Regions from separate parts of the Homo sapiens genome. Here region 2 is linked to region 1. Evidence: promoter capture Hi-C in human tissues and cell types (Jung and others, 2019). All regions are on one chromosome and are shown on one strand. The core of a region is centred on a gene start or on the middle of the fragment in contact, and the rest is flanking DNA. Distances in the headings are between cores, read along the strand shown. Region 1 holds the start of CYP2R1 (cytochrome P450 family 2 subfamily R member 1). Region 2 overlaps INSC (INSC spindle orientation adaptor protein).

What was found. Contacts are between HindIII fragments. The study calls those that stand out against the background at their distance.
Region 2: a contact is called between a fragment that was not itself captured here and the fragment with the promoter of CYP2R1 in region 1, in 1 of the 25 tissues and cell types used here (H1 embryonic stem cells).

The regions. Positions count from the first base shown.
Region 1 is chr11:14,889,928-14,894,087 of GRCh38, forward strand. CYP2R1 (cytochrome P450 family 2 subfamily R member 1) reads right to left here and starts at 2,304. Exons shown (of 5, transcript NM_024514.5): 1 at 2,054-2,304. The coding sequence starts at 2,278. It also overlaps a transcript of PDE3B not described here. RefSeq lists a silencer at 1,812-2,051. The HindIII fragment of the contact is 8,315 bases long and covers 1,042-4,160 here.
Region 2 is chr11:15,162,177-15,166,557 of GRCh38, forward strand. The region is part of intron 2 of INSC (INSC spindle orientation adaptor protein); the gene reads left to right. Among named protein-coding and RNA genes, the nearest start is that of INSC, 49 kb to the left of the region's middle. The HindIII fragment of the contact is 3,139 bases long and covers 1-2,881 here.

The DNA of each region.
Region 1 (4,160 bases), core at 1,054-3,553:
ACCATCCTGCCTAACCGAGTGAATGCCCATCTCTACTAAAAATTACAAAAAATTAGCCGGGCGTGGTGGCGAGCACCTGTGGTCCCAGCTACTCGGGAGGCTGAGGCAGGAGAATGGCGTGAACTCGGGAGGCGGAGCTTTCAGTGAGCCGAGATGGCGTCACTGCACTCCAGCCTGGGTGACAGAGCAAGACTCGTCTCAAATAAAAAAAGAAAGAAACTAATAACATACACAATAACCAAGAACACTTGAGTAGCACTTTTCTGTTTTCTGTTGTTATTCTCACTACCGAGAAAAAAAAAAGACTCAGAATAGAGGTCAAGTTTTGTCTGGCAGAAGACCTGACCTCTAGTCTTATGCTTTCACATTTTATTTCTCTAGAATATTATGATGCTGTGTACCAAGATACCAAAGAGATGAAATATATTACATGAAAATCATGGGAATAAACTCAATTCTGGGAGAATTGCAGGTTGGAAAATAAGATCTAAGAATTATACATACCTTTATTATCTCGTCCAGCTTCCCTTTAACAACGTAAACTATTCGTGAACCATGAAAGGAACGTAAACCATTAGTGACTTTCTATTCTAGAAACCTAGACCAATTCTTTTTTTTTTTTTTTTTTTTTTTTTTTGAGACGGAGTCTGGCTCTGTTGCCCAGGCTGGAGTGCAGTGGCGCGATCTCGGCTCACTGAAAGCTCCGCCTCCCGGGTTCACGCCATTCTCCTGCCTCAGCCTCCCGAATAGCTGGGACTACAGGTGCCCGCCACCACGCCCGGCTAATTTTTTGTATTCTTTTAGTAGAGATGGGGTTTCACCGTGTTAGCCACGACGGTCTCGATCTCCTGATTTCGTGATCCGCCCGCCTCGGCCTCCTAAAGTGCTGGGATTATAGGCGTGAGCCACCGCGCCCGGGCACCTAGACCAATCCTTGTAAAAATTGGTTTAAGTAAGGATTTAAGGTCAAACCTGAAATACCACAGTTGCCAAACATCCCTGTACTTTTCCTTCAAAACACTGACCACAGCCTGTGGCCGATAATGAGATTAGTTTTCTCTCTCCCACTCATCTGCCAACTCCTTAAAAGGCTGTATCTGCCTTCTTCACCGCTAGCGTCAGGCCTGTAGTTGCATATAAATAAGTGTAATTCAAAACAAAACAGGTGAGCTCTGTCCCAGGACCCGTGGAAACTCCTGCCCCCTCCGGACGTCGGGACACCCACACACAAGCGGTGGTCGCCTTTTCCGCTGCCAGTCACAGGGCATTTCCGTGCTGCTTTCCCCTCCGCAGAATGAGGAGGAGCGAAGTACCGACCTCACCGGCTGGTTATGAGTTTTAAATGAGTCACCAAGTTGGCAGTGACAGTGGCACACAGAAGGCGCCTTTTAAGTATCTGCTAAGGTGCCGTTCCCAGCCAGTCAGAACGGCATTACCATCTGCGCTGTAGGACCCCCGCAGCGGATTTTAGTCATCAATTCATTCACGCGTTCACAATCGTTTCCCAGGGCCCGCTTCTCAGTCAGGGGCGTTCCCCTGCATTCTCCATTCTCACAGCAAACGCCTACACCAGTCGTTCGTCGACTGCAGACACCGAAGAACCTGCTATTAACCATCTAGAACTCAGAACGCCTTGATTTTCCGACAAGCCGCGTGCAGCTTCCACAGAGCTGCGAGGCCGACTCGCAAGACGCCCGCACCTGAGGGCATGCGTCCACCCTGGACCTGAAGTGGCGGCGCGGCTGGCGAGCCAAACGGCGCAGGCGCAGGAGCAAGAGCTCGAGCGGTAGCGGGAAAATCAGGACTGGATCGCCTCGGAGCCTCGGCCCGGAGTGGGTCACCGGCAGGGGCGGGGCTCCCCCTGCAAGGGGGCACGGCGTCGAGGACTTCTCCCTTCCAGACCCGGGAAGCGGGTGTCCCTCAAAGGGCAGCCGGCACACGGAGAGGTCCCGACTAGTCGGCCCAGGGGCGGCCATAAGTCCAACCAGGAAGGCCCTGGCCAGCCCGGGCCAGCCTGGCGGCCCTCCCTGCCCGGGGCCCGTCGGGGCTGTACCTCTCCGTACACCTGGCTCTGCTTTCTCATGTAGACATGGGGAAGCTCGGATGAGGCTGCCAGGGAATAGATGTTGCCGATAAATGGCAGCCCCGGCGGCCCCGGGGGGAAGCCCATCGGCCGCCTCTGCTTCAGCAGCTGGCGGACCCCTAGCGCGAAGAGCAGCAGGAAGAGCGCGCCGCCGAGCGCCGCCGCGCCCTCTTCAGCTCTCCAAAGCTTCCACATCGGCCCGAGCTGGAGGTGCGAACTCCACAGCAGCCCTGAGACCCAGGCACTCCCTCCAGCCCTGCCATACTCCCATTGGCAGGATACCCTCAGGTCCCGCCCTAGCTCCGTGGCCATTGGCTGACTGAGTGAGCGCTCAGGCCCCTTCGGGACAACTACCTTCTAGTTTTGCGCGGCTGAGAGTGGACTTTGCGGAGCGGGTGGCCGGTGCTACCCTTTGGAGGTGGCGCGGCTCTAGGCGGAGCAATGAGCCAGGAGTCCGTTTTCTAGAATGTTGACACAAGGGCATTGACGAGGTGTCAGGACGGCCTCACTCACTGGGCTAGGCGGATCCTGCCTCTCTGGGGCCAGACCTTTCTTAAAGTGTCTTTTTAAGTACCAGGTCTGCTTATTTCATTTCACACTAGGAAAACTGGAGAGATGATCAACACTGCAGTCTTTAGCTGAACCTGATACTTTTCAGAATTTCCAGTAGAAAATTGACCCATCAGTAGTAAAAGAAAGTAATTTTACTGTTTTGTCCTGTTTTACTATTTTTCTCCTGTTAATGTATTTTTGTGTGTGATCTTTTAATAATTGTGATGATTGAGCAGTTTATGTGATTAACTCAGTTTACCTATATTTGACCCCTCTCTGGTCTTTCCAAACTGATTACTTATTGGCAATCACGGGACTCTTGTCTGCACTTGTTCACGGAGAGTATTTACTATTCAAGATTTCTGCCTCCACTGCCTGGAATTAAGCAACTGATTTCATATTATTCTTGCTAATTGTTTTTATTCCTGTTTTCTATTGGGCAGTTCCTTGCAATACAGGACTTACTGGGTTTGGGACTCTTCTAACAGCTGCCCTCTAATTGTGATTTAGCAGTGGCATGAGTTTTATGGTCCTCATTAGCTTACGACTCATTCACACAACAAATATTTATTGAATGTCTACTATGTTCCCATGTCCTAAGCAATGGAGATACATAGGTGAATAAGAGCAACAAAGTCCTTTCTATAACTTACATTCTTATGAGAGGGAAGAGCAATGACATGGAAATACAATAATTTTCAATAATCAGAAGCAAACAAAAAGTGCGTTATAGAAAACGCCTGGTGGTTGGGGAGATACTTTAGCAGGCAAGGGCTGTCAAGGAAAGTCTTATTAGGAAGATGACATTGGAGCTGAGATCAACTGCTAAAGAAGTGTATTTGTTTCCTACTACTGTTGTAATAAATTACCACCAATCTGATGGCTTAAAACCACACAAATTTATTTTCTTACAATTCTTGAGGTGAGAAGTCCAAAATGAGTCTTCCAGGGCTGACAGAGAGGTGTTAGTGGGGCTTCATTCTTTCTAGAGACTGTAGGAGAGATTCTATTTCCTTGTCTTTTTCAGCTTCTAGAGGCTGCCCACATTCCTTGGCTTTCGTCCCCATTCCTTCCTCTTCAAGGCCATTAATGTCAGTTTGAATCCTTCCAACATCGCTGTCTCTCTGATTATCTCTCTTCTACTTCCTTCTTCCACTTATAAGGATCGTTGTGATTATATTGGGCCCACCTGGATAATCCCAACTCAAAGATCAGCTGATTAGCCCTTTAATTCCATCTGCAACCTTAATTCTTCTTGCCATGAAACCTAACATATTCACAGTTCTAGGGATTAGTATGTGGACCTATTGGGGGAGGGGAGCATTATTCTGCCTACTATAGAAGAGAAATTTGAGGCAGATATGGGGGAAAATATTCCAAACAGAGGAAATATCAAGGGCAAAGGCTTCATATACTAAGCAAACCTTGTCCTCTGAGAGTGTTTCCAATTTCTCTCCATCTCCCACGCAAGGACACTGCGGAAGTCAGCAAGTTAGTCAGGTCTTTGAGTTTTTCTGTTTAACTG
Region 2 (4,381 bases), core at 62-2,561, 270 kb after region 1:
ATAAAACCCAAAGTGCTTACAATGGCTTCCATGGCTTTATGTGATCTGGCCTAATCCCTTCTATGAGCTCCCCTCCTACTAATATTTCTGTTGTTCTTTCTACTCTAGCCACACTTATCTCCATACTGTGTCTCAAACAAAGCAGGCATCTCCCTCTCAAGGCCTTTGCACTAGGCTCTGACCGCCTGCAATGGTCAGTACCCATATTTCAGCTAATTCTTTCACCTCTTTGAAGTGTTTGCTCAATCTTAGCTTCTCAATGAGCCCTGCTCTGACCACTTATTTAAAATGAAAATTACTTACCTGCTTTCCACTTGACGATTGTGGTACCCCTTATTCTACCACTACTTGTTAATAGAAATCATCTGCTTTTAACATACTGTATTCATTTTTATTTATTGTATTTATTATTGTTGTCTGTCTTCCCCTGCTATGATGTACTCTCCACAGGGGCTGGAATGTTCGTTCGTTTTGCTTACTAATATATCCCAAGTAGCTAGAACAGTTCCTGGCACCTATTTAGCCCTAATTAAATATTGTTGAATGAATGAGACTTGTGAGAATATTCAGGGTGAGACTTGTGACAGTATGTTGGCCATGCACTCTGTATGGATGCTGGGAGTGCCTGGAAGTTTTTAGAATAAAGTTCTATGAGAGGGCAGTCCAGTAAGAGGGACTGGACTTCTTGAAAAGAAGAGATGTTAGGTCTATTAGATTCACCGTGTCACAAACTGAACCTATCATTGTGTCTTCCAAATTTATTTCTCCTATCCATTCAGCTGCTCAAGTAAAAAATCTGGTTCTCATCTCTTCACTCTCTCTCATTCATCATCTATATGAATCAGTGTCCAAGTCTTACTGATTTTGTCTTCTTAATTATTCTTGAAGGATTTTTGCCCAACATCACTCTGTCATCAGAGCTGAGAATTTCTACTCACCTTACACTTGAAAGTCATTTTGAATGAATATAAAATCACTGGCTCACACTTTATTTCCTTGAGTATTTTAAATATGTAACTCTACTTTTTCTGATATAAAGTATTGCTCTCAGAATCTGATGATAGTGGAATTTTCTGTCTCTTATGGGTAACATGCCACTTAGTTTTAGATACACAAACAATTTCTTCCCTCCCTGCCTCCCTGCCTTCCTTCTCATTCTTTTCCCTTGTGCAATAATCTTACTATCTTACTACAGTATGTCTTGCATGTTTGCTTTTATGTATGTAGTATATTCTTTCAATGTGTAGTTTTAAGTCCCCTCCCCCACCTGAAAGTTTTCTGATTTATAGTTTTAGTATTTACCCTGTTTCTGTGCTTTGAATTCCTTCCTTAGGAACTTACATTGTGTGTTTGTTGGATCTTCTTACCTAACTTTAATATTTGTTGTTTTCTCTCAAATTCTTTTTATTTTACTTATGTATTTATTTTTTTGAGATGGAGTCTTGCTCTGTCGCCCAGGCTGAAGTGAGTGCAGTGGTGCGATCTTGGCTCACTGCAACCTCCGCTTCCTGGGTTCAAGCGATTCCCCTGCCTCAGCTTCCTGAGTAGCTGGGACTACAGGTACCTGCCACCACGCTCAACTAATTTTCTGTATTTTAGTAGAGACAAGGTTTCACCATATTAGCCAGGATGGTCTCGATCTCCTGACCTCATGATTCACCTCGGCCTCCCAGAGTGCTGGGATTATAGGCGTGAGCCACCATATCTGGCCTCCTTTAATCTCTTTCTTCATTTTTTATTTTCAAAGTTTTCTTAATTTTTGCATTTGATTTTAAAGGCATTATCTTATGTGTTTCTTCTTGTTTAGCCTTTGTTTCTAAAATGACTTTCCCCTCTTTATTTCTAATTCCTTCCTGAGTTGGGACATTTCCTTTCTGATAATTTATGCTTCTTGTTCCTGTTTTTTATAATTTCCTTAAAATTTTAAGCTTATTTTGTTATAGTCTTATCTGTTTTAAGAGTACATTTTTTTTCTGGCATTTTCTCATTGTAGAGATATTATTCTGCTCTTTATTCTCTTTTTAAAATAACTATATATGGGATGAGACTACAATAACTTTCTGTTGCTCACTTTTAAGTGAAATTAGTTTTCATGAACCTTTAGAAGAAGGCAGGGTTCAGGAAACCTATTCTAACTTTATAGAACTCCACCTTCTTTTGTTTTAGTATAGGGTCCAAAAATATGATGACCTGCTCTCTGAGTGTTCCTATCTCTGCTTTCTTCCCTCACATTGATCTGAACATCTCGTTCCTGTGCCTCTGTTGTCCCTGTCCCACTGAATTTGGATTCCACTCTCAGGAGTTTCTCCTTAATGTGGTGCTTTGTTGTGGTAGAGATTCCTGGTGGGTCAGTTTTGAGAGTTCATAAAACACCCTATACTCAGCTATATTGGAAAGGCAAATCTCCTTCTAGTTTCAGCCACTGTTCTCAAATTCCCATACTATGCTTTCCAGTAAATACCCAGAGGCTATTTTGGGTTCTCCTTTCTCATGTTCTTCAGATGCCACCTTATTGCTTCTTTCTTCTTCGTCTCATAAGATAATATGATATGGTTTGGCTGTGTCCCCACCCAAATCTCATCTCGAATTATGGCTCCCATAATTCCCATGTGTTGTGGGAGGGACCAGGTGGGAGGTAATTGAATCATGGGGGTGGTTTCCCCCATACTGTTCTCATGGTAGTGAATAAGTCTCACGAGATCTGATGATTTTATAATGCCTGCCACCAGTTAAGATGTGCCTTTCGCCTTCTGCTATGATTGTGAGGGCTCCCTATCCATGTGGAACTGTAAGTCCTTTAAACCTCTTTTTCCTTATAAATTACCCAGGCTCAGATATGTCTGTATCAGCAGCATGAAAATGGTCTAATACATGATACCGAGCAGGTCTTACAGCTGTTGGTGGTTTGTCCCCACTTGCTGGTATTTCGAAGTTTGTGGGGATAACTTATGATCTAGTTTCATTATAAATATCATCCATGGGGTAGGGGTTGTCATATAGTTACTCTGTCAGTTTTCATGTGGGGGTTTGAAGAGATTGGAAAAATATGCGCCACCACTGCCATCTTTCCAGAATTTTCTTCATGTTTTTGACTTTTAAGTAAAAAAGGTTTGATGATACACAGGCTTTATTAGAACTTCTCTAATAGAGACTAACACTTAGAGTATTACCCATCAGGCAGTATATATTATGTGTATATACACATAATATATATAATCACTTCACTTAATAATCACCAAAAGCCCAGAAGTTAGTTATTATTATCTTTCACCATTTGCTAGTGAGGAAACTGAAGCACTGAGTGGTTGTATAACTTGTCCAAAGTTACGTAGCTAGCCAGTGGCAGAGCTGGAATTTGAATCCAGGTAAACCAGCTATAGAGTTTCTGCTCTGGTGGGAGCAGTGGTAACCAACAGGAGTCTTCACCATGCCTAGAAGACCCAGTGGCATGCCTGGTGGTGGTACCCTGGTACCTAAGAGAGGTAGCAGTAAGAGAAGAAGTGATGAATGTAACAGTCTGAGATGTCCTGTGGAGTCCAGAGAGCATGACATTCACTGGAAGGAATGGCAGCCATGCTGGGTGGACATGGCAGGGCATGGCAGCTAGGATCATGCCCAGTGTAAGGCTGCTAAGGAAGAAAGGGTGTCAGAATCATTCAGTTCCACCTTGTAGTTGCTGAACCAGTCTTTTGGGGGGTGGTGGGGGAACATATGTTAGATGAACTCTGGGGACTCTTAGATGCACTTGAGCGAGCCTCATGACCCATCATGATGGGATGAGAGTGAAGTTGGGCTATCTTTCTTATGTCTGTCTCTTCTGCTCGACTATGTAAGCTTCCTGGGGGCAGGGATCACCAGAACAAGGCCTGGAACATTGTCAGTGTCAATAGTGTTTCATTGAATTAAGTTGACCAGGGATTGCCTGAGAGATACTGCTTAATGTTTTAAACCTTGTTGAACTGGTTGAGAATATTCTATGTTGGTTCCTGGTGTCATGTGGGGACAGACACTTCTCAAGGGCTTGAGAATATATACCCACAACTCACCAGAGCACTGTTTGCCTTTACATTCAGGCCAGGCTCTGAGAATTGGGGCAATGGTTTCTAAGGGTCTAAGCTCTACCCAACCAGAGCATTGCTTAGTGGAAGACAGGAACATTTGCAAAAATGCCTTGAATGAGAAGTTTCTCTGGTTCTAATGACATCAGCTTCAAGTATTTCAAAATCTTTATTATCATACTTTTTGTGGGATCTAGTTACTTGCCCAACACTTAAACTTTTACCACAGGGCTGGGAACTCACCTATATTTTGTCTGACATCCTAGCCAAAGACAAAATCCATACCTCCTAAAATTAATTCTAGAGCAGAGGATAGGGTGGGT